Linked DNA regions of Homo sapiens: regions 1, 3, 4, 5, 6 and 7 are each linked to region 2. Evidence: promoter capture Hi-C in 16 types of primary human blood cells and fetal thymus (Javierre and others, 2016). All regions are on one chromosome and are shown on one strand. Each heading gives the region's core, a stretch centred on a gene start or on the middle of the fragment in contact. The rest is flanking DNA. Distances are from core to core; before and after follow the strand shown. Region 1 overlaps OSMR-DT (OSMR divergent transcript). Region 2 holds the start of EGFLAM-AS1 (EGFLAM antisense RNA 1). Region 3 overlaps OSMR (oncostatin M receptor). Region 4 overlaps OSMR-DT (OSMR divergent transcript). Region 5 overlaps OSMR (oncostatin M receptor). Region 6 overlaps OSMR (oncostatin M receptor). Region 7 overlaps OSMR (oncostatin M receptor).

Region 1 (4,133 bases), core at 1,130-3,629, 370 kb after region 2:
ACAGTGTGTACCCTATTCTCCAAGGAGCCTCTGTTCCTTAGACTTTTAGTTTTGGAATCTTCAACTTATTAAGTAACATGGTAAGAGAGAGATTAAAAAAAAACTCACCTTGCCATTTTGCCAAATCTGCTTTTATTTTAATGACTCCTGCAGTAAGATGCAGATCTTCTTTCAATTTTCTACTTGCTGATTAATTTCCTGTTGACTCTCAACATCACTGAAAACCTTTTGGATGAAGCAGAAATAGCCTTAATGCAAGTGATTCTTGGTTAGGGGGTTGAGTCATCTGGGGCCAGGCTTTGGGGGCTTCCTCTGAGCTGAGGGTGGGTGGGTGGTTTTTGGCACTTGTTAATTTAATATGTGTCCATTTGTAAACATATTCAACACAGTCATTCTCCTGCTTCCCATGTCCCGGGAGGGTTGGCCTCATGTTCATCTCTGGAGGCCCAGTACTCACCCATGCTATGGAAATCTCTCTGCCCTCATTCTCCTGCCCAGCCACCCTTCTTTGACTTTTTCCATCAGTGTTGACATTTTCCTTTCTTTCCCCTTGTTAAGGTTCCTAAGTTTAAGGCCTTCCACCCAGCTATCACTACCTCCTGGAAAGAAAACATTTTATGTTAGTCATGAACACTTGGGTGTGAATTTAGGTCAGGTGACTGCTCCTAAGGGCACTTGAGTATCAACCCTTGCATCTGAAGGGTAGGGAGGTAATAGGCCAGTTGTTCAAAGATTCCACCCTACTTCTGGTTCTGCAGCTAAATGGCTGGGTTTCCTGGGTCAGATACTTTACTTCATGGAGCCTCAGTTTTAAAAAATATCTATTAACAACATAAGTTTAACTAGATGATTTCTAAAGCTCTTTCCTACTTTTAAAGCTATGAACTTCTAGTCCCAATATTAGAGGGGGATATCTGAGGATAGTTGAAGCCCCCCCGACCTCTGAGCCTATCATGTTGTTCTCTGCCTTCATCACCCAGATGCCAAGAGATCCTAAGGTACCTTCTACCGACTGTGATCCAATGTCCCCGCTTTTCTCTTGGAGTTTTTGCTAGGATTTTATGCAAGAAAAGGCCCACTCTTTATTCTGGGTAACATTCTTAGTACTGAAACGAGAAAAATTCCTTTGTCCCCCTTACAGGGTGTGCGATGGGGGTGTGGCTCGCTTCTTCAGTGTCCCGCCGCTCAAACCTCTAGGGGAGCATACAGAAGGGCAGGCTGTGGGGGCTCTGACCCCACGGCAGTGTCTAGGGGTGAATGTGTATGGCTCCTGAAGCCCGAGTGGGCATGTGTTACAGGATACTCTTTTAGTTTAGCCATCTGTAGGCAGCTTGTTTGTTAGCTCAACTAGACCCCCTTCCTTATCACAAGGACAGAGGGGTTTCTGTATCCCGGGGTTTCTTGCCTTGGTGTACCAGAAGAATCAGATCACACCTAGGCTTGGAGAATGAGTGCAAGATTTTATCGAGCAGAAGTAGCCCGCAGCAGATGGGGGAGCCAGAAGGGAGCTGGTTTCCCCCGGAGTGGGCTGCGGTGGCCCGGGCTCTCCTCCAACTGCCCCGGCCAAACTCCACCTCATTCCACCGGTGGATGGCCTGCTGGTGGACGGCCTGTCGGTGTGCCACCAGCATGCTCCCCTAGACGTCCTCTCGCCCACCAGCTTCATGTGTCTTCTTCCACTGATGTGCTCCTCTCAACGTCTGGCCACCTGTGTCTGCCTGCTAGGGTCTCGGGGTTTTTATAGGCACAGGATGGGGGTGTCGCGGGCCAGAGTGGTCCTGGAAAATGCAACATTTGAGCAGGAATGCAGGAGTGCCTGTCCCCACCTAGGTCCGTGGGGGTAGAGCCCTAGCCAGAGACCACGCCCTCCTCTACCCGGCACTTCCCCTCCCCCTTTCCAGATCATTTAAAGGGACCACGCTCTTCCCTTCCTGGCACTCCCAAATCAGTATGAATATTATAACTGATATTAATGTTCCTATTACTAGCTTCCTCACACTCACCTAATACGATGTGACCAACAAATAAGTTTAAAACGAAGAAATGTGAAAACACACATTTGGTTGAAGCTTAAAGCCTGTAAACCAAAAAGTATCTGAGACAAGCCTCAATCAATTTAGGAAGTTAATTTTGCCAGGGTTAAGGACATGCCTATGACATAGCCTCAGGAGGCCCTGACGACATATACCCAAGGTGGTCGGGGCACATCTGGGTTTTATACGTTTTAGAAAGACACGAGACATCAAAAAATATATATGTAAGGTGTACATTGGTTTGGTCCGAAAAGGCAGGACACCTCGAAGTGGGAAGGGTCCAGGTCTTAGGTAGATAAAAGACGAATGGTTGCATTAAACAATAGGGCGAAGGAAGCAATCAGATATGCATTTGTCTCACGTAAGCAGGGGGGATAACTTAGAGTTTAATTTCCTTGTGGGCAAAGTGTGAGGGAGGTGTGTAACTTTTTTATCTTAGTAGCTGTTTTAGGAATAGAATGGGAGGCAGTTTTGCCCTAAGCAGTTCCCAGCTTGACTTTTCCCTTTGGCTTAGTGATTTTGGGGTCCCAAGATTTATTTTCCTTTCTCAAGCCTTTCTACATAATTGCTGTCGCCCTCCTGTCTCCAGGTGTGTGTTCGTTGCATAGCGCTCTAGGCAGTTGTTTCCAACCTTGGCTACACAGTAAATTTCCTGAGAAGCTTTTATTTCTTTTTGTTGTTGTTATTGTTTGTTTGCTTTTTTATTAGAGACAGGGTCTCACTCTCACTCAGGCTGGAGTGCAGTGGCACAATCCTACCTCACTTCAGCCTCAAACTCCTGGGTTTAAGAGATCCTCCTACCTCAGCCTCCTGAGTAGCTAGGACTACAGTCCCACGCCACTACACCCAGCTAGTTTTTTTTTTTTTTTAAAAAAATAGGGTCTTGCTATGTTGCCCAGGCTGGTCTCAAGTCAAACTCCTGGCCTCAAGCAGTCCTCCCACCTTGGCTTCCCAAAGTGCCGAGATAAAAGGCATGAGCCACTGTGCCCAGCCCTGAGGAGCTTTTAAAAGTCCCATGCACAGGCCAGCTGCTGACCCAAAGACATCAGCCTCTTTTCCTGCAGTGGGACCAGACAGTAGTATTCTGAAAAGTCCCCGTAATTCCAATTTTCACCAGAATTGGAGATCTATTTAGGGCATACACAGGACTTGAGGAACATCTGAGGTGGAGCTATGTCATCTAACCCCTGCGTGGACGAAGGCATTACCTCGGATTTTTTCTTTTTCTTAAAACCTACGCAGATTAAGAAGTGTCCTTTTTATTACTCTGTGTTTCACTGGGGAAATCATACTTTGTACCTTTTCTCTCAATTTCTTCTTTTACCTTGAGTAACCCACATGTTGGCCTCCTGGGTGTCCCAGGTGCCTCAGACTTGAGGATCTTCCTGTTCTCTCATATGTTCAATTAACTTTCGTTAAGCCTCGTGTTCAGCCAACACATCTGAGGATTCCTGAGGGACTCATATTTCCACTGACACCTCTTCCTGCTTCTCCTAAATGTTTTGTCTCTGCTCTCTGTGCTATCTCCTGCAAGCATCATCTGTCTTCCTCATTATTTTTCTCCGTTACCAACGCCATTCCTATTACTTCATTCCCTCAAAGCACCACTAACAAAAGACTGTGTGTGCAACAGACTTTCACGGATATTTTAGTGCTAATGAAGGATTATTACCACACAGAACAGCACAGGCATCAACTTAAAATTGAACGTCAGACATTACCGGCCTAACATCCAGTGGCCGTGGAAAATTCCAGTCATGTAGAATTATTTTTTACTTTTTGGGTCACACCCACTCCAGAGGCTTTTTCATCTTTTCTCTAGCTCTTAGGCTTGACTTGCCCAAATTCCTGACACTTCTTTTATGCAGGGATAGTCAGCTTTCCACATCCTCAGTGAAAGTAGCCTTTGGCTGACTTTGACACATCCCTCTGCCCATTCACTCAGCTAACCCAAGGGCCAAAAGCACAAAGGGATGCACAAACGTTCCTCTTACGTCATCCCTTTCACCTGGTCATCTTTCCACGCAGAGCCACCCTCCCAGGTCGTGGCTTCCAACTGTCTGCCCTCTTTGTTCTGTTGTGCTCGTTGTAGTCTGAAAT
Region 2 (3,773 bases), core at 1,169-3,668:
TGTATTTAGGGGAATGCAGCAGTGGAATCTGTGATGAGGCCTCGTGCATCCATGGTGGCACCTGCACAGCAATCAAAGCCGACTCCTACATTTGCCTCTGTCCCCTTGGGTTTAAAGGTCGACACTGTGAAGATGGTGAGAAAGAAGCAAGTTGAAGGCGGTTTCTATCTGCATGTTAATTTGTGTAGATGTACTTTATCATCAATATAGTTTCTTTGTTAATTTGTTTGTTTGTTTTTGAGACAAAGGCTCCCTCTCTTACCCAGGCCGGAGTGCAGTGGCGCATCTCGGCTCACTGCAACCTCTGCCTCCCGGGTTCAAGTGATTCTCTTCTGCCTCAGCTCCCGAGTAGCTGGAACTACAGGCGCCCAGCTAATTTTTGTATTTTTAGTAGAGATGGGATTTCACCATGTTGCCCAGGCTGCTCTCAAACTCTTGACCTCAAGTGATCCACCCGCCTCGGCCTCCCAAAGTGCTGGGATTACAGGCGTGAGCCACCACGCCAGGCCTCATCAATGTACTTTTAACAAATCTAACAAAGCCCCATACATTTTTATGGGATCAACATTGCTTTGTTGGGAGAGATGGGGGAAACTTTTTAAACAAGGTTGGAGTGTCTCTGAGTGCCAAAATTTGTTTGGTAATGAGAACTCACTCATCTGATGTTGAGCCTTTCAGCACTTCTTACTGCAGGGCACCTCCGTCCCTCAGCCAAACATATGTTCATTTCAAGATGCTAAGAATCAGTGGGCTCCTCTTGGCCCTTGAATAACTTTTAAAAAGCCTGTATTGGTATGGTTTGTATCAGACTGAATTCAAAGCCTTTAAAGCTCAGGCTCATGCTCTTTAGAATTTCTGTCAATTTCTGATAAAAGATTGGGAAGATGAGGCCAGGCGCAGTGGCTCACGCCTATAATCCCAGCACTCTGGGAGGCCGAGGTGGGCGGATCACGAGGCCAACGTGGTGAAACTCCGTTTCTACTAAAAATACAAAAATTAGCTGGGTGTGGTGGTGCACAGCTGTAATCCCAGCTACTCGGGAGGCTGAGGCAGGAGAATTGCTTGAACCCAGGAGGCGGAGGTTGCAGTGAGCCGAGATAGCACCACTGTACTCCAATCTGGGTGACAGAGCGAGACTCCATCTTGGGAAAAAAAAAAAAGATAGGGAAGGTAGACACAGAAACGTTAACAATGTGATGGGACAAAAGTAACCTTTTTTTGTACTGTTCTACTAAATTATGCCACATTTTAATACTGTATATACAGAGAGTATGTAAATATATATACATGCACACACATGTGTATATAAACATGGAAACACATGCACACAAATACACATATGTGCGCTCACACAGGCAAATAATAACAGAAAATTTCAAAGATTTTGGAAAATCATGGAGGGTTCCAAAAGTGATTTTGGAAAATCATTTTTGCAGAATTCTGAAATTAAAATAAAAAGAAAATAAAACTGAGGCTAAGATCACAAAACTAGTCAAATTCTTCCCTAATTCAGATTTGGACCTAAGATACCATATTGGGGAAAACTTTTGTGATCTCAAATCTCATGTCACCTAAAAGAGGGCATGTGAGTCAGGGTAAGCCAATGCTGTTACATACCAGCTCATATTTCAGTAGCCTTACATAATCAAGGCTGGTTCTTGCTCATATTACAAAATCACTGCAGGTCAAAGATGGTGGTGAGAGAGGGGGTTCTGCTCCACACAGTTATACAGGGACACAGTTTCCTTCCATCTAATGGCTCTTCTAGGGCCTTAGAGTCCTCCACTGATACTTGCATCCTGCCAGCACGTGAGAGGAGAGAAAGAGCATGGAGGATGGAGGGAAGTTTTAGGGGCCAGACTTAGGGTGCTCTATGATTCTTCCACCCATGTTCTACTGGCCAGAATTCAGTCACACCACCAACCTAACTGCAGGGCTGCTGGGAATTGTAGTTTAGGTCTGTACCCAGGAGGGAAAGAACACAGCTATGGGTGCACATCTGGCCAGTTTCTGCCACAGAGGGATTTCTAACACCATGCTTGTTTTTTCAGCTTTCACCTTGACCATTCCTCAGTTCAGAGAGTCTCTGAGATCTTACGCTGCAACTCCCTGGCCACTGGAGCCCCAGCATTACCTTTCCTTCATGGAATTTGAGATCACATTTCGGCCAGACTCAGGAGATGGTGTCCTCCTGTACAGCTATGACACAGGCAGCAAAGACTTCCTGTCCATCAACTTGGCAGGGGGCCACGTGGAGTTCCGCTTTGACTGTGGCTCTGGGACCGGTGTCCTCAGGTGAGGGCTGAAAACTTCTGGGACTCTTTCCCTTAAAAAGGCAAATAGTAACTGCTTCAGAAAAAAACCAAATCGCCATTCAACAGCTCACACTCATCCTGTCTTCTCTACATGCTTATCTTCTGAAACTTGTCCTGACTTGTCCTGCTTCAGGCAGATGACAGGCTTCCTATAGAGAGTGCTCTCCTGCCCACAAGGCTTCCTTTTCTCAAATAACTACCCAACAGGTAGCAATTGTATGCTTCAAACTATGGAAAATGGACTTGCTTCAGGTGGAGGTAAACTGCCTCCATTTCCACCTAAAGTTATGTCATGTCATCCGCAGAAACTTGATGAACTGTAACTAGTCAGCATCTCATACAGAGCATCACATGATGGGCACCCAGCAAATACATGTCAACTAGTAAAAAAGTATTAACAAATATTTTTGAACAAAAATATCCTTGATGACCTCACTCTAAATATTCACTTTCCTCTTGAACTATTTCTTTAATGGAAATTGACAGTGAATCATCAGCAATGCAGAGACCCGTTCCCTAAGCAATATGCTCAAGAAAGATGTGTGATGAGTGGTTTCAATAGCATAGCAGGAAATGGGTGCTTCTGCAGTACTTGCTGGTATTTGCAGAATTGGTGTAAGTAGTCAAAACTTTCCTACTGTTATCTAGTTTGTACTATTAAATTACTTAGCAGGTCGATTGTTCCTTGGAGCCTGTAGTTGGTAGATGCAGACGCTTTTATTTGTTTATGTCTCCCATCTTTTTATTGTGTTGATGGTAGTTTTAACCTTCAAGCCAGAGGGGCCACTAATCGCATGCAGACATGCTTCTTGTTCCTACATTTGTCTAATTCGTCTTTTTTGAAACTCACTAGGATGTTTTGCTCCATGGTGCCCTGTAACAGGGTATCAGTTAGTCTGTTGTTTCAAAGAATATTGCAAACTGTTTTCAATCTTTATCCATATTGCTAGACTGTCATGTTTAAAAAGAGTATGTAGGTGAGATGCTACAACCATGCATTGCCCTTAACTACTGATCATTTTTCCTGGCTGATAGAAAATGCTCACTGCATTAGGTTTTAACAGTTCTTAAAAAGGATGGTTTGTTTTTGTCCTTGTGGCTGAATTCCTGCACATCAGTGACACCTTCCCCTCTAGGGGAACGGACAAATATTGTTGTACCTCTGGTTATGCAAAAACATCCTATATTTCAAGACAACTTTGGTGGGGATTTAATTGATTCAATTTACATATGATTATGCAAAATAGCCTAAGCAATTCACTTAGAACTGTATGTCAAGTTGACAAAGGAAGACACCTTGAATATCACCTTGCACTTTTAAATGGTTTTCTTCCTGGATAGGGAATGACCAGAAAGATCCAGGAGAGGTTCTGGGCTCATCAGCCCTCCTCCTGGACAGACTACCCCCTCCACACTGCCTCTCTGCAGTGGCAGCTCCAGCTGTGGGGTCACAAGCAC
Region 3 (4,201 bases), core at 1,520-4,019, 510 kb after region 2:
CCAAAATGCCTACATAAACCCTAAAGAAATACCTAAAGATGTGTACTAATACAGTGATTGTGAAAGGAAAATAAAATTCACTATGCAAAGGAAAAAAATAAGCTGAAAGCTGGTTCATGCAAGAAGCTGCAATTCATTTTGCTTCTAAGCAGATAGGTACAGTAAAAGTTAAATATCTCCACAGGTAGCTACTCTATATTTACCTTATCTTAGCCTCTCCTGGGAGATGAATACATGATTAACTATTCTCCTGTCTCCTCGTTTTCTCTTGTGACATGTGGATAATCATACTCTCCCTTACAGCCCACTTTTCCTCCAGCCCTTTCTCCTCCAGCCCACTTTTCCCCTTTAACATTATCTTTGGAGAAAGGCACAGACCACATAATGTTTCTATGATTCTGTTTATTTCTTCCAGTCATATCCTTCACGTTGGCAAAAGAAAATTCTAAATTGGTGGAGACCTGTCTCAGATACTTTTTGGTTTACATCATCAAAAGTACTGTTCTTGAGAGCAAGGTTTTCCATAGTAAGATTCATAAAGAGAGTTTCTTTCCCCTTTTCCAGGGTCAGGGTTAATTTTAGGCCAGTTTTGGCCCTCTCTTACCTTCGTGGGTCCTTTTCCCTAGAACCCTGTGTTGCCTCATAGCACGGGCTTGTGCATCTACCCAGGGCCACTTTTCTTTACAAAACTCCAACATTATCTGCCACACCACTGTCCCCAAATCAAGCCCCATTTCTTCCAGGACAGCCAGATGTGAGGTGGAGCATGGGGAGGGCAGGGGAGGCAAATGGATTGAACAGAATCATATGTAGATGTGAATAACTTAACCCCCTAAACCCTCCCTGAGCAATTTACATTTGTGAAAAGGGATGTTTACCAACCCAGCTGAATTATTATTTGGTGGAAATTGCAAGCAATGGGAACAGGAAGATAGTGTCAGTCTAATAACAGAGAGATACTCTCTGAAAGAAAAGATGTTTATTTGGGACTGAGCATTGTAATGGAAATACTTATGCCAAAATAAACTATAGTAAACTATGTGCATATTCAGGGAGGTAAAGGAAGACAAAGGTTTTTAAAGGAAAAAAAATGAGGAGGATTATATAATTGTTTTGAAATAATTATTCTTGACTACAAAGATTAATAATAAGGGTGATGCCAGTTCAAGGTTTAATGGGAAGATGCCCTTGCAGAAGCATTTTGTGTGTGTGTGTGTGTGTGTGTGTGTGTGTGTGTGTGTGTGTGTAAGGTTGTGATGGCCTTTGTGCAAGGTTGTGGTTTTCGTAGTGTTTTTTGTTATCTGCGTGGCCTTCCCAGCTCTATTTGTCAGGGTTTCCTACCATTAGTGATTACATTTTGGTTCTAACAGATTTCACAATGGTCATTTGAAATAAATGAAGCACCAGTTGACATATTGGAGAAATAAACGTAATCATTTTCCCAGATTAAGACATATTTATGTAATCTGAGGCTAACTAGAAGGAGTGCACTAGTCAATTTTTGATGTGTAACAAACACCCTCAAAAGCTCCGTGGCATACAAGAACAAATCTATCTTTTTATGCTCATGGGTTTACAGGTCAGCCGAGACTTGGCTGATCTAGACTGGGGTAAGCTGGACTCCAAGCTTCAGTCAGGTTCAGATTTGTTTCACGCATCTTCATTCTAGGGCTAAGGCTGAAGTCGCAGCAGCTACCTGGGGCACACACTTCTCATGCTGAGGAACACAAGAGGGCAAGCCGATGTATGCATGCACATTTAAAGCACTTACGTTACAATTACCAACAGCCCATTGGCCAAGCCAATGCACATGGCTGAGCCCCAAGTCAAGGGGCAGGATAGTATTCTCACCTACCATGAAGTTTTGGCAGGGGTGGAAAAGCATAATTTTAATACAGCAAGTCATGATCCAATCTATCAGAAGAGATAGATAGTAACAAATTTGAGACACACGGTGTTGATGGCAAATGGCTTCCTGTGTTGGTTGGCTAGTTGGTTGGTTGGCTTTTCCCCTGAAGTCAGGCAGAATTCATATTACAACTTGCATACATAATTTGAGAAATAATAAACATGTAAAATTACTTTCAATCATAAACTTGTATTTATTCCTTTGAGGAAGGGAAAAGTACTTATTAAAAATGTCCCTTTCTTTTTCCTCGTTCAGCCTCGATGCTGATTCATATCCTACTGCCCATGGTTTTCTGCGTCTTGCTCATCATGGTCATGTGCTACTTGAAAAGTCAGTGGTAAGTGTGTGAGGAAGGTTTTATCCAAGAAGAGAGTAAGAGAAAAGTCTGGAAAGAGATTTAGTAAGATAGAAATGACATTGAATAATATGAAACAACGTATAAAAAAGGAAAAGAACAAAGGAGGCTGGGGTGAGAGTATGTAATTTATTTCACAATTTTGTTTTCCAAGTGGCTATATGAGGAAACTAATCACCATTTAAAATAGACCACAAAATTTTTTCAACAGCAATAGCTAATATTTATATCTCTCTTACTGTATGTTTGGCAATGTTCTAAGTGCTTTATCAATTAATTCATTTAATCCTCATGGGGACACTATAAGTACCATAATTATCTCCATTTAGCCATAAGAAATTAAAGCATGGAAGAATTAAGTAACTTGCTTAATAAGTTACAACGCAAGGATTAGAAGCCAGGAATCTGACTCCAGAGTTCTTGCTCTTAACTCGTCCACTGTACTGTGAAATTCAGTCTCATTTTCGCTTTTTTTTCTAGGATCAAGGAGACCTGTTATCCTGACATCCCTGACCCTTACAAGAGCAGCATCCTGTCATTAATAAAATTCAAGGTAAATGTTGGCAAATTGTATGTATACCATATACCTATTAAGGACTAACCCAGAGTGGGGGCTGTCAGAATCCTACTTTCCTAGAGCTCCTCAGGAAAATATAGCACAGTAAAAGCCATCTTTGCACCCACAGCCATGAAATAGGTGATTGGAGCTTTGATTTCTTCTGTCAGGGGAAATCTTTTGGTTTTCAACATCACCTCCAGGTTACTTGTGACCAGGAAGAAACATGAAGAACATTGAAGCTCTAAGTGTATTTCACATGCTTAATATACTTTGATGCATGCATGCACACACACAAATGTCTATATTTACATATTTTTGTTTCCTTTCTAGGAGAACCCTCACCTAATAATAATGAATGTCAGTGACTGTATCCCAGATGCTATTGAAGTTGTAAGCAAGCCAGAAGGGACAAAGATACAGTTCCTAGGCACTAGGAAGTCACTCACAGAAACCGAGTTGACTAAGCCTAACTACCTTTATCTCCTTCCAACAGAAAAGAATCACTCTGGCCCTGGCCCCTGCATCTGTTTTGAGAACTTGACCTATAACCAGGCAGCTTCTGACTCTGGCTCTTGTGGCCATGTTCCAGTATCCCCAAAAGCCCCAAGTATGCTGGGACTAATGACCTCACCTGAAAATGTACTAAAGGCACTAGAAAAAAACTACATGAACTCCCTGGGAGAAATCCCAGCTGGAGAAACAAGTTTGAATTATGTGTCCCAGTTGGCTTCACCCATGTTTGGAGACAAGGACAGTCTCCCAACAAACCCAGTAGAGGCACCACACTGTTCAGAGTATAAAATGCAAATGGCAGTCTCCCTGCGTCTTGCCTTGCCTCCCCCGACCGAGAATAGCAGCCTCTCCTCAATTACCCTTTTAGATCCAGGTGAACACTACTGCTAACCAGCATGCCGATTTCATACCTTATGCTACACAGACATTAAGAAGAGCAGAGCTGGCACCCTGTCATCACCAGTGGCCTTGGTCCTTAATCCCAGTACGATTTGCAGGTCTGGTTTATATAAGACCACTACAGTCTGGCTAGGTTAAAGGCCAGAGGCTATGGAACTTAACACTCCCCATTGGAGCAAGCTTGCCCTAGAGACGGCAGGATCATGGGAGCATGCTTACCTTCTGCTGTTTGTTCCAGGCTCACCTTTAGAACAGGAGACTTGAGCTTGACCTAAGGATATGCATTAACCACTCTACAGACTCCCACTCAGTACTGTACAGGGTGGCTGTGGTCCTAGAAGTTCAGTTTTTACTGAGGAAATATTTCCATTAACAGCAATTATTATATTGAAGGCTTTAATAAAGGCCACAGGAGACATTACTATAGCATAGATTGTCAAATGTAAATTTACTGAGCGTGTTTTAT
Region 4 (4,301 bases), core at 1,702-4,201, 410 kb after region 2:
GCTAGGAGCCAGCATTCTCAGACAATGGCTGCACAGCCTACATCTAAACTCAGGCTATTTGGCACCAAAGGTCTGCCTAGCTTACATAAAGCCCATTTGTTAATCTCAGCTCATACATACAACACTTTAATTTAGTCTCTCTCTGTTAATCATCATTTTATTAATTTTAATTTTTAAATAATATATTTATATAAGTAAAAATTCAAAAGACAGAAAAAGGGAGACTTAAGCCTCTCCTCTCTGACCCTTAGGCACCCAGGGACTTTCCTAGAGGAAACTAATTTTTTTTTTTTTTTTCCTGAGACGGAGTTTCACTCTTGTTGCCCAGGCCAGAGTGTGATGGCGCAATCTTGGCTCACTGCAATCTCCGCCTCTCGGGTTCAAGTGATCCTCCTGCCTCAGCCTCCCAAGTAGTTGGGATTACAGGCATGTGCCACCACACCCAGCTAATTTTTGTATTTTTAGTAGAAATGGAGTTTCACCATGTTGGCCAGACTGGTCTCGAACTCCTGACCTTGTGATTCTCCCGCCTCGGCTTCCCAAAGTGCTGGGATTACAGGTGTGAGCCACCGTGCCTGGCCTGTTTTTTGTTTTTTAAAATATATCTTAAGACATATTTTATCCTTTTCTATCCTCTTTTTCTTTTAAAAAATGCATCCTTTATGAACTGTCAAACTTTTATCCTTTGTCTATTTCAGTGCAAAAATTATCATATGACATTCAATATCTTTCTTTATATCTGGCTCCAAACCTTCTTTATGAAGAATGTTTTACTTCCTTCCAATAGACATCTCTCTTTCCATTTAGCAGGCCTGGGAATTGCCTTTTCAATAAAGTCTGTTTTTTTTTGTTCAGATCTTTCTACCAGCCTGGAATTTCTGCCTCACTGCCTAACAGTCAGTCAGACATCTCTGGGTCTTCTTTGGTTCCAGCAAGCAATTTAGTTTCTTCCTCTCTTTAAACTGGGAAGTACTACCTTCCTTTCAGCTCTGACAAGGCTATACTGTAGAAAATGGGTCTCTCCTCCCTCCAGTTTCCCTGCAACTCAGAAACCCATTCAGAGCTTAATCAAGCCAGCACTGTCCCTGGAGACATGCAGAGCTGGATAGTGCTAATGAAATAGTTGGTAAAAGGATGCCTTCACCAACAAAGTATGCTTGCAAACAATCTTGCTGTTCCCATAAGAAAAATCAGCCCTCCTTGTCAGGAGGAAGATCCCCTTTCAGACACACCCTCTTGCTCATTTCCTATAATTCTGTTGTTATCTCTATTATCTGTCCTAGGCTCGTACTTTTTCTTTCTCGTAGCTCTTAAACCCCTCCTCCTTAACAGTCAAAAGTCATCACTCCTCTGAACTCCTGAAAGACTATTGCCTGTGCTTCTCAATCGGTGCTTATCACAAATAGCGTTTATTGTCATAGTCCACAACTGGACAGTAAACTTCTTGAGGACAGGGACCAAGGCACAAGTTGTTTTATGGATTATCCAAAGAACCTAGTGCAATACCTTGTATATAAGCATTTTATAAATATTTATTGATTATAAATTGAATATAACATTCAAAAAATAACAAGTGATGCTTCTTTTCTAGCAAGGCATTCTTTGATTTCAAAAATCATTATTTTTAAGAAGTAAAAATACCAATGATAAAAAGCCAATCTGCACAGACAGCTCTGAAAAGCACAAGCTTCTCTTACTCCTCATCCTTCATCTTTATAAAGACCTTCTCCACAAGAATAACTTGTTACCAATTTCTTGTAATCCTATCCAGAACATTCTTATGTATCTACTCCATAAATATTAAGAAATTAAATAGATGAAATGGATATACTATATATACATTTCTGACTTCTGCTTTTTCACTGAGTTGTGCATGATGGACATATTTCCATAGGTGCACACATATATAATCTTCCTTCTTTTGAAAGAATGAATCATAGTTTTCAGTCTTCTATTAGCAGATTTTTAGATTGTAGTTCTTTGTTACTACAATATTCTTCTAATGAGCATTCGTGTGTTTGTGTGTGTGTATATAATTTTGCAAGTATGGATGTTTGTAAGCCTAAATATCCAGTCAAGCAGAATATTCTTTAACTTTTTTATTCTTTTTAAAAACAGGGAAGATTTTCAGAAGAAATTGCCTATTGTCGTCTTCTTTTTTTTTGAGATGGAGTCTCGCTCTGTTGCCCAGGCTGGAGTGCAGCGGCACCATCTCGGCTCACTGCAACCTCCAGCTCCTGGGTTCCAGCGATTCTCCTGCCTCAACCCCTGGAGTAGCTGGGACTACAGGCATGCATGAGTACGCCTGCTAATTATTGTATTTTTAGTAGAGACAGGGTTTCACCATATTGGCCAGGCTGGTCTTGAACTCCTGACCTCAGGTGATCTGCTCGCCTCGGCCTCCCAAAGTGCTGGGATTACAGGGGTGAGCCACCATGCCCAGCCTGTCTTCTTTTTCAAAACAAACATTTACAATTTTATGTTTAGGCATCATGTTCCATGATCTTATGATAGGAAGATAAGTTCTTATAATTATTTGTGGTTTGAGAGCTAAGAAAATTTATATAATAACATTTCTTTCTTTCTTGGGTGTGCTATCATTTTCTCTCTTAGCTTGGTTGCTTCGTATTAAATTTGAATAAACATGTTTCCCTAGCCTGTTCTCCATATATTTCCCGTGGGAGTATGAAAACTATCTGACCATTATTCCAAAGTGACTAAGCATCATAGGCCACAGTATAATTGGACAAAAGGAGCTACATTTAAGTAGCTGATAAGATTGAGTATAAAAGTGAGTGCTTTTAGGAAGTTTTTGTTTTAGTGTACATGGAGGTAAGTTAAGCACAAATAAGGTAACAAACATAAAGGTATAGCTTACTGTAACTCACTCAAATGAATTTTGTGTTTAGCATTTGAACAAAGTTCAGAGGAAATCCAAGAATGCATTTAACTATTCTCTTTTTTTGATTAAAATTCTTTCCTTTGTATTATAGTGGTATTAATATTTATTTAAGCCTTCATTCTAAAGTGATGTTCAGCCATAATAGATTAACCGTACCTGATTTCAGAAGGTTTTTACTCAATTTCCAGATTTAGGTCTATGCAAATGTATTTCAATCTTCTGAAAAACTGGGTTGCATCCAAAAGAATGTTCTACTGGAGAGAAATCTAATTTAGCAAAGGAAACAGTTCATACTAGCTCCTCCCAATAACCTAGCCACTTAGCAGATATAACTACAATTGCAGGGAGTGCTACTTTCAGCCATTGCTGAGTAGCTCTGTTTAATTGACTGCCCCTCCCCAACATATAACAATATAAAACACTAGAAAAATATTGTTAAAAATTAAAAACAATTATCGGCAGTGGAGAGTGACCAACACCAGGCAGATTGTGGAGGAAAGTCAACACTTGGCAGAGGAAAGGCATGGAGCAACTTTCCCAAATTTTATGACCCTCAGCCCAAGACTAGTGCATGTCTGTGCAATGTGAGGTAGCTAAAACTCTGTTAGAAAATATGCAATATTTCTAGTTTGAAGAACCAGGGGTCAGGGTTCACAGCAACAACATTATTTGGAAAGTGAGGCGGGAAAACATAAAGGAGGGAGCAAGAGAGGAAGAAGCCCAAATTCTGTATTTAAAATAAATACCAATTATTGGATAATCTCTGAACCATGCTTGTGCAAGGCAAACTCAAAGCAGCCTGGTCAACATTAAAAAGTGAATTCAGATTTGAGCTTCTACTTACTGTAAGCAATATCAGGTTTGCAGTTTGAGTTTAACCACACTGCTTGCCATTTTAAAAGATAATCAGTGTCATTGGAGGAATAGAACAGAATCTTCATCACATAATATTTATAACGCACAGGTTGCACTCCAAAATTATTTGACAATCCAAAAATAGGTAAATAAAAAAAACAGGAAAATGTAATCCATTCTTATAAAAGAAAAAAATCAGTGGAGATTGACTAAAAGATGATGTAAATATTGGAATAATGAAGCAATGTTTTAAAAGCAGCAACTATAATAACTATGCTCAATGAAGCAAAGGAAAATATGTTCATAATAATAAAAAGAATAGGGACAACCAGTATAGAAATAGACAATATATTTTAAAAGAACAGATTGAAATTCTAGAACTGAAATATACCATATATATGACACAAAATTTACTAGATGGATATAATAGCCCAACGAATATAACACAAAAGGAATTTGTAAGCTTAAAGATAGTTCAATAGAAATTATTGAATCTGAAGAGCACAGAAAAAAAGTTGAAAAACAACAGAGGCTCATGGGCATT
Region 5 (3,844 bases), core at 744-3,243, 470 kb after region 2:
CCCCCATACAAGAAGTAGCAGTACTGCCACATCGGAGAACAGACAAGCCATAAAGCTATCTGTATTGGGTTGAGTCATGAGATTATGCTGTGAAACCACTCCCACAGAGTCACAAAACAGACATTTCCCATGGCTTTCAACCACATTGTGGACTGCAGATAGACTACAAGGTACACCTGAACTAGGAGTCACAAGTCCTAGAACAGGGGAGTGATAGGGAAACAACTCAAGTTCCTGCCTATCTAGGATGGGGAGCTGGTGACGCCACCTTACCCCCTACCCCTACAGAGACCTAAGTGCACTTACAGGAGCTTCTTCTAGCCACCCTTGCCAGGGCTAGTGCTTGTGCTCACCATTGGGGTATTTGTGGGCAAGCCAGGGGCTCCAGCTCTGCCCACATTTGTCACCCTACCTCTGCAGAACAGGAACCCCAGAGTACTGGGCACTCTACTGTCCAGGGCTTCACCTGAAAAAACAGAGCACTTCACAGTAAACACAGACAGGATACTTACCTGCCTACTTGTGTAGCAGCTGGCTCTTACCCGCAAGTGTCATCTACTGGCCTATAGGCCAAGCCATGCAGCTCCAAATGAAACCTGCTGACAGAAGTACCTAGGGCTATAGGTGCAAAGCCAAAAGACCTTACCCCCTCCAGATGAGAAGGAAAAAGCATAAGAATTCTGGCATCATGAAAATCGAAATGTTGTGACAACATCAAAGGATCACTCTAGCTCCTGAACCCAAATGGAAACTCAGAAATGACAGATAAAGAATTTAAGGCATCAATTGTAAGGAGGCTCGAAGAGATCCAAGACAAAGTTGAAAATCAACATGAAGAAACTTCTAAGTCAGTCCAGGAAATGAAAAAAGAGAAACATCTTGAAAAGAAATCAATTAGAACTACTGGGACTGAAAAACTCACTTAAGGAATTTCAAAATACAATTTAAAGCTTTATTAATAGACTGGATGAAGCAGAAGAAAGAATTTCAGAGCTTCAAGAATGATTTTTTCAAACCTAGTCAGACAAAAGTAAAGATAATTTTAAAAAATGAACAAAGTCTTTAAGAAATATGGCATTATGTAAAGCCACTAAACATACAAAGTGTTGGCATTCTTGAGAGAGCAGGAGAAAAAGTAATCAATCTGGGAAACAAATTTGAGGGAATAATAGAATAAAACCTCTGTAATCTTGCTAGAGAGGTAGACACCCAGATACAAGAAATCCAGAGAACACCTGCTGGATTCTACACAAAACGAACATCACTAGGGCATATAGGCACCAGATTGTTTAAGGCCAGCACTAAAGAAAAAATCTTAAATGCAACTAGAGAAAAAGGTCAGATCACATACAAAGGGACCCCCATCAGGCTAACAGTGGACTTCTCAGCAGAAACCTTACAAGCCAGAAGAGATTGAGGGTCTATTTTCAGCATTCTCAAAGGAAAGACATTCCAACCAAGAATTTCATATCCTGCCAAGTTGAGCTTCATATGTGAAGGTAAAATAAAATATTTTTTCAGATAAGCAATTGCTAAGGGAATTTGTTACCATTAGACCAACCTTACAAGAAATCTTTAAGGAAGTTCTAAATGTGGAAACAAAAGAACAATACCTGTTACCACAACATCACACTTAAGTACCTAGCCCATAGACCCTATAAAGGAACCGCAGAATAGAAACTACAACCAGCTAACAACTTCACAATAGGATCAAAACCTCCTATATCAATATAAATCTGGAATGTAAACAGTCTTAACACCCCCACTTAAAAGGCACAGTGAATTAAATTAATTATTGAATGAAAAAGAAAAAAAAAGAAAAAACAAGACCAATCTGTCTGCTATCTTCAAGAGACCCATCTTACATGTAATGACATCTATAGGCTCAAAGTAAAGGGTTGGAGAAAGATCTGTCATAAAAATGGAAAACCAAAAAGAGCAAAAAGATATTCTTATATCAGGTAAAACAGACTTTAAACCAACAACAGTTAAAAAAGACAAAAAAAAGGCACTACATAATGATAAAGGGCTCAATTCAATAAGAAGACTTATTGATTCTAAATATATATGTACCCAATACAGAAGCACCCAGGTTCATAAAACAAGTACTTCTTATTTTATTACCTACAAAGAGACTTAGATAAGCACACAACCACAAAAAAATAGTTGGGGACTTCAACACCACACTGACAGCATTAGATCATCGAGGGAGAAAACTAACAAAGAAATTCTGGACTTACATTCAACACTGGACAAATTGGGCTTAAAAGACATCTACAGAACACTCCACCCATCAACCACAGAATATACATTCTTCTCATCTGCACACAAAATATACTGCAAGATTAACCAGATGCTCGGCCATAAATCAAGTCTCAATAAAAGCAAAAAAAAAATAAAAACTTTTAGGTAAACAACAAAATGAAGGAAGAAATTAAAAAATTCTTGGAAATAAACAAAAACAGAGACATAACATACCAAAATCTCTGTGATGCAGCAAAAGCAGTGTAAAGAATAAGTTTATAGTGCTAAATGCCTGCATCAAGAAGTTAGAAAGATCTCAAATTAACAATCTAATATCACACCTAGAGAAACTAGAAAAACAAGAACAAACTGACCCCAAAGCTAGAAAAGAAAATAAATAACTAAAATTAGAGCAGAACTGAATGAAATTGAGACCCCAAAACCCATACAAAGGCTCAATGAAACCAAACACTGGTTTTTTGAAAGGATAAACAGGATTGATAGACCACTAGCTAGACTGTAGTTTTGATTTGTATTTCTCTGATGATCCATGATGTTGAGCACTTTTTCATATGCCTGTTTGCAAATTGTATTTCTTCTTTTGAGAAATGTCTATTCAGGTCTTTTGACCATTTTAAAATCAGATTATGAGATTATTTTTCCTATAGAGTTGTTTGAGCTTCTTATATATTCTGGTTACTTAATCCCTTATCAGATGGGTAGTTTGGAAAAAATGTATTCCCATTCTGTGGTTTGTCTCTTCACTTTGTTGATTGTTTCCTTTGTTGTGCAGAAGCTTTTTAACTTAATGAGATTCTATTTGTCCATTTTTGCTTTGGTTGCCTGTGGTTGTTGGGTATTACTCAAGAAATTTTACTTGCATAAATTATTCCAATGTCTCGGAGAGTTTCCCCAATGTTTTCTTGTAGTAGTTTCATAGTTTAAGGTCTTAGATTTAAGTCTTTAACACATTTTGATTTGATTTTTTATGTGGCTAGAAATCGGTGTCTAGTTTCATTTTTCTGCTTATGGATATCCAGTTTTCCCAGCACTATTTATTGAAGAGACTGTCCTTTCCCCAGTGTATGTGTTTTGGCACCTTTGTAAAAAATAAGTTTACTGTAGATGTTTGGATTTATTTGGGGTACTCTAGTCTGTTCTACTGGTCTATGTATCTGTTTCTATGCCATTACCATGCTGTTTTGGTTACTATAGCTCTATAGTATAATTTGAAGTCAGCTAATGTGATTCCTCCAGTTTAGTTCTTTCTACTTAGGATAGCTTTGGCAATTCTGGGTTTGTGGTTCCATATACATTTTAGGATTGTTTTTTCTATTTTTGTAAGGAATGTCTTTGGTATTTTGATATGGATTGCAGTAACTATGTAGATTGCTTTGAGTAGAATGGACATTTTAACAATATTGATTCTTCCCATCTATGAACATGCAATATGTTTCCTTTTTTGAGTCTTCTTCAATTTCTTTTATCAATGTTTTGTAGTTTTCATTGTAGAGATACTTCACTGCTTTGGTTAAGTTAATTCCTAGGTATTTAATTTTACTTGTTGCTATTGTAAATGGGATTACTTTCTTGATTTCTT
Region 6 (3,894 bases), core at 1,059-3,558, 450 kb after region 2:
TATTAAATATTATTTCATACTTCATTTTGATCTTTTCAGTCTTGGCTGAACGTTTACCATTGACTCCTGTATCACTTAAAGTTTCCACCAATTCTACGCGTCAGAGTTTGCACTTACAATGGACTGTCCACAACCTTCCTTATCATCAGGAATTGAAAATGGTATTTCAGATCCAGATCAGTAGGATTGAAACATCCAATGTCATCTGGGTGGTAAGTAATTTTTTTGGCTCAATATTTAAAAAATCATCTTTAAAAAAAGACACCTTGGTTTTCTTTTATAACATCTGAAAAATTCTCGTTTTGGAAATATATTAGCAGCTCAAAACAGTTTGTCTAAACAATTACATTTCTGCATTTTCTGTTAATGATCCAGGACAAAGTAACATGACAACTTTGGTTTGGTAGGTAGGATGGGATGCACTAAGAAAATAGATTTTCTCAGTTTTGCTCTGTCTTCTAAGAAGACTGTTGAGTCTGTCCTCGTGAATACTGAATTCCAGAGAGCCACGAAGATTAACCAATTCATTCCTCCTACCTCTTTCTTCTCCGTCCTCCAGAGATTTTCCTAAATAAGATGTAATAATTTGGCAACATTTTTCTTTCCAATGTAGCTTCCTGAGAGTTTCTTGGCCTATACCCAGCTGAAGTGCAGGGAAGAGTAAGTGCTAGCACTTAATGTTCCATCCAACAAGGAGCCATGTTGGAGAGTAACTTCCTGTGTCCTTTGTTGCCTTACATGTGGCTTTTTCCACAACAAATTAAATTAAGAAAATACTGACTTTCACACTCTTTTTGTCTTTGAATTCTTTGGGGTGGATTTTTCACTTAGTTCAAATGATTATTGGGTCAGTTTTGCCTGAGGTGTCCCCATCTAGTGCACTAGGACACATGAGTGGTTTATGATTTCCATTTCTCATCTGGGAACTCTAGTAATCTATATGCACATAATGTTCAGTCATTTTCACGGGATATTTAAGGACAGTGGAATGTTTTCTCATTAAAGGAACTGAAAATTTTCCTACAGGTAAGAGAAGCCTAGGACTGTGCTTGGGCCCTCTGTCAGCTCAACCAGGCTCCTGTCTTCACCCAGGTAGTGGAGGCTTTGGGTACACACATACAGCATGGTTAGTTCCTTTGGTAAGGCATACAAGTCACTAATTTTAACATCTTCAGTTACTTTCCATATTCATTATTGAAATTTGAGATCTGCGCAAGTTAAATAAAATTTTGACTCTGTCCACTTAGGATTCATACCTAGTCTATAATTCTACCTCTCAAAGGGCAGTTTCCCACAATGAGACTTATTTAGTATGATGATTTTCAACAACAGCAATACTTCTGTGTAGCTGTTTACTCCCTGCTATCAACACATCTTTCCACTATCTCACCTTATACTAGCAAGTCTGATTTTTGTATTTTTAATGGGTACACTTGTTGGTAATTTGGGCCCGGTAAAACATTGAAGCAAAGGTCATATTGAGACTAAGGATTATCTACAAAAAGAAAAATTGAGGTGGAAGTGCTGGAGGAATTGTGGAAAACTAGCACTTAGCACCGTTAGCAAAAATAACATTAACCATAGACTACATGGATCCTATTCTTTATTTTTCCAAAAGACAACTCATATCTATTATTATGTTACAAAAAATAATATTAGCCATACACCAAGTGGATTTTTTTATTTATTTTCCTAAAAAGCAGTTGTTCATATCTGTTTTCATATTTGATTCCCGTAAGAGTCCTCTTTTCAAGGGAAAGCAGCTAGTGTGGACTATTTCTGTAATCTTCTAGGGCTCAAGACCCTTCAGGGTAGAGTTTTGCCTTGTCTATCGTGTTGTCCTCACAACACCCAACCCAGCCTGACTACAACAGTGGAGAAACCACAGCACAGAGAGGTTTGTTGTGTTGCTCCAGGTGACAGAGGCAGGGTGGGATCATCCTTCACTCCTGTGCCCAGAAAGGGATGACAGTCACATGCAGCCCCCAGGCCATCGGTGGACACATGTCCTATGGAATAGATGATGCCTTGAGAAATGCTTGTCTGAATCACTCATGCCTGAAGTTGACGAGAACTATCCTCCTCCAGTTAAGGAGGAGGATGCTGCTTCTGTTTAGACCAAAATCTCCCTTATACAGGGAAGCTCCCTGTAGTGCAAGCCTGACAGGGCACTCTCATTCATGCTGGGGGCTGGGGGGAAGCTTCTGGACTCAATGTCTCGGACACCTCTGTTCCCAAACAAGTCAAAGGAAGAGCACTTGCAGCTGGACCAGAGGCACCGACCTGTCTCCTGGATGGTACTGGCCATTTGGAACCCTGAACTGCATGGTCCTGCCCTCCTGGGTCATGGTCCTCCCCTTCCCTTTGCTTTTTGATTTTGTCAATGGCATAGGAAGGCAAAGTAGAGTAAGAGCTCAAGCTTGGAAGGAGGCCAGGTGTGGGAGTCAAATGTCTCAGTAACAAATCAGTGACCTCTATTAGACTTCTGTGTAAATGTGTGTGCCAATTTCTTGTGACTTACTGATGTCTGCAAGGATCAAATTAAACCTGCCACTTCAATAAATGAAATGACCCAAAGACAATTCATCATATTTAAAGAAAAAAAATCAATGAATTGCAGTACTTAAGGAAAAGTTTTATCTCCTACATTAACAGGGCTGTAAAGACCACAAAGCAGAAGTTGAGGTTAAACAGGTTCCACACATAAATAGTGTCTGGGGGAAATACAACTCATTGCATATTAATGAAATGATTAAATCATTCAGTCCAGAGTTTTAGCCTGTGCTCCCAGATCAGGCATTGTGCGCAGTGTGGGAATGTCAGCGCTGAGCACACTGGAAAGAATGAGGAGGTGAACACACGCATAGGGTATTCTACACACGGGCTGTGTGTGCAGGTCACTGATGAGATGCTATGAGGTTCGGGTTAGGCCTCACCTTCTCCCACAATTTGGATAAAGGGCTGTTTGAGACCAAATATCCAAGAGGATAGAAGTTACTTTAGCAAGTAGAGTAGAAAAGAGTGCTCTGAGCAGGCCCAACAGGCATGAGCAGAGGCGCTGAGAGAAGGGAATTTCCAGGCCTGAAAGCCCGCTGTGGTGCTGGATCCCCAAGCACATGAGGACAGGGGCACAGGCCTAGATGCACAGGACCATGGAGTGCATGCTCAGGTTTTGTTTTTTTATCCCAAGGGCAATAAGAACAAAGGAAGTGGCAAGCTCTGATTTGAATAGCCGCACAGCGGAATGTGGTGGGGAACTGGGGCAAGGGATGTGTGGCCGCTAGGAAGCGAGCTGTAGGGTTCAGCCAAAGCGGAGATGCGGGTAAGAGAAGTGGCTGCATTTAAGGGACAGAAGGGAGGTAAAGTTCAGTCTGTGACTTGTTGGCATTAGAGCGAAGTTGCCATTATTGATGTACTTCCTTCTAGCAGGGGTCTGGGGGAAGAGAGGAAATATTTGCTCCTTTTTTTTTTTTTTTTTTTGAGATGGAGTCTCACTCTGTTGCCCAGGGTGGAGTGCAGTGGCGCAATCCCAGCTCACTGCAACCTCCGTCTTCCGGGTTCTAGCGATTCTTCTGCCTCAGCATCTTGAGTTGCTGGGATTACAGGCACGCACTACCACATCCGGCTAATTTTTGTATTTTTAGTAGAAATGGGGTTTCACCATGTTGGTCAGACCGGTCTCAAACTCCTGACCTCATGATCTGCCTGCCTTGGCCTCCCAAAGTCCTGGGATATTTGCTCTTAAATTTTAAAAATATTTAAGCAAAATGTACTTGACATTGCTCATGTTAAATAGTGAGGGTTTCATGGATCAGGACCTCACAACTTGTTAAGGAACATATTTTGTGATCTAGGAGTAAAGTAATGCAAGAAATGGAAATAAAATATAAACAT
Region 7 (4,356 bases), core at 899-3,398, 490 kb after region 2:
AAAACAAAACTACACACCTACAGCCATCTGATCTTCTACAAAGTCAACAAAAATAAGCAATGGGGAAAGGACTCCTAATATAATAGATGGTGCTGGGATAGCTGGCTAGCTATGTGTGGAAGAATGAAGCTAGACCTGTACCTTTCACCATGTAGAAAAAATTAACTCGAGATGAATTACAGATTTAAATGTAAGACCTCAAACTATAGGAATCCTAGAAGAAAACCTAGGAAACACCATTCTGGACATTGGCCTTGGGAAATAATTTATGACTAAGTCTTCAAAAGAAATTGCAACAAAAACAAAAATTGACAAGTCAGACCTAATTAAACTAAAGAGCTACTGAACCACAAAAGATACTATCAAAAGAGTAAGCAACAACCTACAGAATGTGAGAAACTATTTGTAAACTATGCACCTGACAAACACCTAATATCCAGCATCTATAAGGAACTTAAACAATTCAACAAGCAGAAAGCAAACAACCCCATTAAAAAGTGGGCAAAAGGGCCAGGCGCGGTGGCTCATGCCTGTAATCCCAGCACTTTGGGAGGCCGAGGCAGGAGAATCACGAGTTCAGGAGATTGAGACCATCCTGGCTAACGTGGTGAAACCCCGTCTCTACTAAAAATAGAAAAAAATCAGCCAGGCGTGGTGGTGGCTGCCTATAGTCCCAGCTACTCAAGAGGCTGAGGTGGAAGAAAGGCATGAACCCAGGAGGCGGAGCTTGCAGTGAGCAGAGGTCGTGCCACTGCACTCCAGCCTGGACGACAGAGTGAGACTCCATCTCAAAAAAAAAAAAAAAAATGGGTGAAAGACATGAACAGAGAGTTCTGAAGACATACAAGCAGCCAAAAAACATTAAAAAATGCTCAACATCACCAATCATCAGAAAAAGTCATATCAAAATCACAATGAGACACCATCTCACACCAATCAGAAAGGCTATTTTTAAAAATCTTTGCATGTTGTTACTGTTTTTATTCTTTAGCTACCCCAGGTAGCTTCTGTAGCAGTCAGCACCACTGTCCTGCTAGACCTTCTGTAAGTATTAAAAGCCAATGTTCTTACAAGAACGTTTTTGCACAGAAGGAGGTGTTACACAAAAAGGGGGAAGGTTAAGCTACTGTACGCATTTGTTTGCAATGTGTCATCTCACAGAACTCATCCCTGTAACCCCATCAGGGCAGGAGCCTTCTTCACATGTCTTCATAATATTTCTTAAGGGAGGCCATTTTCCACAGTGCTTCAGATCTCAAATGCAAGTGGAGCCTGACATAATAAAACTCTGGTTTCATTTCAACCATGATGCAGGGAATATATTCCATGTGTATTAATAGGTTGTAACAGTTTTCTAGGGCTTTAATAACACAGTACCACAGACTGAAGGACTTTAACAAGAGAAATTTAGTGTCTCATAATTATGGAGGCTAGAAATCTGACATCAAGCTGTTGGCTGAGGTTGTTTCTCAGAGGCCACTCTCTTTGGCTAGTAGATGGTCATCTATGTCTGCTCACAGGGTATTCTCTTGAGCGTCTCTGTGCATCTATTGCCTTTTCTAATGAGGACACAAGTCAAAATGGCTATTACTAAAAAGTCAAAAAGCAACAGATTCTGGGGAAGCTGCAGGGAAAAGGGAACACTTATACACTGTTGGAGGGAATATAAATTAGTTCAACCTTCGTAAAAAGCAGTTTGGAGATTTCTCAAAACAGAGCTACTGTTCCACCCAGCAATCCCATTACTGGGTATATATTCAAAGGAAAATAAATCATTCTACCAACACGCATATGTTCATCACAGCACTATTCACCATAGCAAAGACATGGACTCTACCTAGGTGCCCATCAATGATGGATTGGACAAAGAAAATATGGTACATATACACCATGGAATAAATAATGAAATAATGTTCCTCCCAGCAACATGGATGTAGCTGGAGGCCATTATCCTAAGCGAATTAATGCAGGAACAGAAAATCCAATACTGCATGTTCTCACTTTTAAGTGGGAACTGAACATTGGGTATTCATGAAAATAAAGATAGAAACAATAGACACTGGGGACTACTAGAAGGGGAAGGAAGGGAGGGGGCAAGCGTTGAAAAACTAACTGTTGGGTTCTATGCCCACTGTTTGGGTGATGGGATCATTCATATTCCAAACCTCAGCATTGCACAATATACCCATGTAACAAACATGCACATGTACTCCCTGACTCTAAATAAAATTATAAAAAGAGAGTTTCTAGGAAGTATTTTTAAAAGTATTTCAAAGGAAAGTAAAATGTAATAGGGAGGGATATGATTCACTAAATTTGATTATTAACTACAGAATGATGAAGTATTTGACTATGGTTTCACATGAATGAGTTATATGGAAATATGCTAAATTACTTTCAAGAACATAATAGCATGCACAAAGAAGTCTGGAGGTTAAAGTAGCACTCAGGTGATGGACTTTGAATTTATGTTTTCATAACCAACTCTAATTTAATGAAATCATAATTTCTCAAAAATTTGACAGCACTGGGATATGTATTTTGAAATATAGTAAACCCTATCAATGATAGTAGACTGGTAAAATACTGATTTGCACCTTTCAAAAAGGATGTTTTTCTCGATTAAAATAAAGTTTGTGATTTGGCAAACTGAGAGTTGGAAGAAAAGTTGGAAGAGTTGGAAGAAAAATAATTCATGTAAAGTTAAGGAACCTACTGATAAGTAATTTGGATTTTATATCATTACTCTAAAATGGAATCTGGACTATTAAACCATTAGATTATGAAACTAACAACTCTATATCACATCTTGTATTTAAATTGATTTTTGTTATCACAAAAGTTATTTAGGTTTGTAGCAGTGCTACTAACTCTCTTAATTAGATACTTGAATTTAATTCAGTTATTTTTATTAGGGGCTATGCTAAAATATTCAAGCTATCTTTAAGAATTAAAGGGAAGTTTCAAAGTAAACATTAAAAATAGAAGTCATATGAGACATGCTATAGTTGTATTTTCAAATTCAGAAAGCTGAAGCAGCACGTTCACAAAATGTGATTGAGTAGAGAGATAAAGATGTTTTTTATGTCTGGATTTAAAAATGAGATGTGCTGTTAGGACTCAGTTGCAGAATGACATCAATACCTGTGAGTCCCTTTCTTGTTTGTCTCCATGGATGTGCTATAATTGGGTCATCTATATCTTCATCAGTTAAAGCCTGATATTTCTTGTGGCTTATGAATGTTTTAAATTCTCTTTTGACTACTTCTTGTTGTACTATTCTTGTGAAGTTCATACCATGACAAAATTGTATCAGTAGAAAATTTGATTCTATGTGGAATACAGAGTATTACATAAATCCAACAAAACAATTTACAAACGAAAAGATGTACTCATCTTAATAGGACTTTCATAATATTTTTATCAATCAATGATTAAAACGTGTGCCTTTTTAAGATTTTAAAATAAATTGCAATGATTTCATTATTTTTCCATTGCTGAGATTTTTTTTAAATGAGAATTTTGTTGAACTTGTCATGCAAGCTGAGCCTTCAATTGACCATCCATTTTCTAAAGATGAATAATGGAATGACCAGACCCTAACTACCTTGAGTTCAAATCTTGGCTTCACTTTTACTTTCACCTGGGTGATTTGAGAAATTAACTTACTCTCTCTGGGTCTTAGTTTCCTTATCTAGAGAATGGGGTAAATAATCATACCTGCCCCATAGAATTGTTATGAGGATTAAATGAGTTAATATATGCAAAACATTTGGAACTGGGCTGGCATCTAGTAACCCCTCTATAAATATTAGCTATTATTATGTGTAAAAGAGATCCCCCAAATGGTTTAATACATAGGTACCCAGAGTTGGCTTGGATTTAAAGACCTTTCCTTATGATAAGTTGATTGAGCAAATGCAGATTTAGATGCAAAATCAATCAGTCAATCCATCTACAAAGATTTCTGAGTGAGGGATGGAGACAAGAAAAGATTGGGACATTGAAGCAGGTTGTTTTCTGAGTTCCTTTGAAGTTCGGTTTTTATTCATTCAAACGGTTTGTAGAGCTTTCACGAAGTGCCAGGCCCTGAGGCAGATGCTAGAGTTTCAAAACCCTTGGCCCCAGGGATCCTATGGTTTATTGACAGAGAGACAAGGAAGCACACTATTCTAAAGCAGCATGGTGAGAGCCACAATAGAAGAAATGCTGGGTGCTGCAGGTGCCTTAAGTGTCCACAGCAAGCAGGTGACCCAGGCGCAGGCAAGGTGCTGGGAGGAGGAGTGGGATGAGGCCTGCCCAGTGGAGGGAGACCAGCACTCCAGTGAGCGGGCCAGCCGTGGGTATCATGAAACT

The links. Contacts are between HindIII fragments. The CHiCAGO score rates a contact against its expected background, and 5 or more counts as called.
Region 1: a contact is called between a fragment that was not itself captured here and the fragment with the promoter of EGFLAM-AS1 in region 2, in 8 of 17 cell types (M0 macrophages, M1 macrophages, M2 macrophages and 5 more). The highest score is 9.7, in M0 macrophages.
Region 3: a fragment that was not itself captured here is called in contact with the fragment with the promoter of EGFLAM-AS1 in region 2 in 1 of 17 cell types (naive CD8 T cells); the score reaches 5.4 in naive CD8 T cells.
Region 4: a contact is called between a fragment that was not itself captured here and the fragment with the promoter of EGFLAM-AS1 in region 2, in 4 of 17 cell types (M1 macrophages, M0 macrophages, M2 macrophages and 1 more). The highest score is 9.5, in M1 macrophages.
Region 5: a contact is called between a fragment that was not itself captured here and the fragment with the promoter of EGFLAM-AS1 in region 2, in 1 of 17 cell types (M1 macrophages). The highest score is 5.8, in M1 macrophages.
Region 6: a fragment that was not itself captured here is called in contact with the fragment with the promoter of EGFLAM-AS1 in region 2 in 2 of 17 cell types (M1 macrophages and total CD8 T cells); the score reaches 6.0 in M1 macrophages.
Region 7: a contact is called between a fragment that was not itself captured here and the fragment with the promoter of EGFLAM-AS1 in region 2, in 8 of 17 cell types (naive CD8 T cells, total CD8 T cells, M2 macrophages and 5 more). The highest score is 9.2, in naive CD8 T cells.

Annotation. Positions count from the first base shown.
Region 1 is chr5:38,796,245-38,800,377 of GRCh38, forward strand. OSMR-DT (OSMR divergent transcript) reads right to left here. Exons shown (of 4, transcript NR_109951.1): 2 at 109-225. Among named protein-coding and RNA genes, the nearest start is that of OSMR-DT, 48 kb to the right of the region's middle. The HindIII fragment of the contact is 624 bases long and covers 2,068-2,691 here.
Region 2 is chr5:38,424,958-38,428,730 of GRCh38, forward strand. It overlaps EGFLAM-AS1 (EGFLAM antisense RNA 1), which reads right to left and starts at 2,419. Exons shown (of 2, transcript NR_046737.1): 1 at 2,135-2,419; 2 at 1-124. It overlaps EGFLAM (EGF like, fibronectin type III and laminin G domains), which reads left to right. Exons shown (of 22, transcript NM_152403.4): 13 at 10-135; 14 at 2,052-2,295. RefSeq lists an enhancer at 1,641-2,840. The HindIII fragment of the contact is 14,108 bases long and covers 1-3,773 here.
Region 3 is chr5:38,929,719-38,933,919 of GRCh38, forward strand. It overlaps OSMR (oncostatin M receptor), which reads left to right. Exons shown (of 18, transcript NM_003999.3): 16 at 2,165-2,246; 17 at 2,745-2,817; 18 at 3,154-4,201. The coding sequence ends at 3,726. Among named protein-coding and RNA genes, the nearest start is that of OSMR, 86 kb to the left of the region's middle. RefSeq lists an enhancer at 3,739-3,908. The HindIII fragment of the contact is 2,288 bases long and covers 1,626-3,913 here.
Region 4 is chr5:38,834,907-38,839,207 of GRCh38, forward strand. All of the region lies in intron 1 of OSMR-DT (OSMR divergent transcript), which reads right to left. Among named protein-coding and RNA genes, the nearest start is that of OSMR-DT, 8.8 kb to the right of the region's middle. The HindIII fragment of the contact is 2,533 bases long and covers 1,686-4,218 here.
Region 5 is chr5:38,892,595-38,896,438 of GRCh38, forward strand. The region is part of intron 7 of OSMR (oncostatin M receptor); the gene reads left to right. Among named protein-coding and RNA genes, the nearest start is that of OSMR, 49 kb to the left of the region's middle. The HindIII fragment of the contact is 2,090 bases long and covers 949-3,038 here.
Region 6 is chr5:38,876,162-38,880,055 of GRCh38, forward strand. OSMR (oncostatin M receptor) reads left to right here. Exons shown (of 18, transcript NM_003999.3): 3 at 40-212. Among named protein-coding and RNA genes, the nearest start is that of OSMR, 32 kb to the left of the region's middle. RefSeq lists enhancers at 2,574-3,075, 3,076-3,575. The HindIII fragment of the contact is 218 bases long and covers 2,200-2,417 here.
Region 7 is chr5:38,912,760-38,917,115 of GRCh38, forward strand. All of the region lies in intron 9 of OSMR (oncostatin M receptor), which reads left to right. Among named protein-coding and RNA genes, the nearest start is that of OSMR, 69 kb to the left of the region's middle. RefSeq lists an enhancer at 3,865-4,356. The HindIII fragment of the contact is 6,135 bases long and covers 1-4,356 here.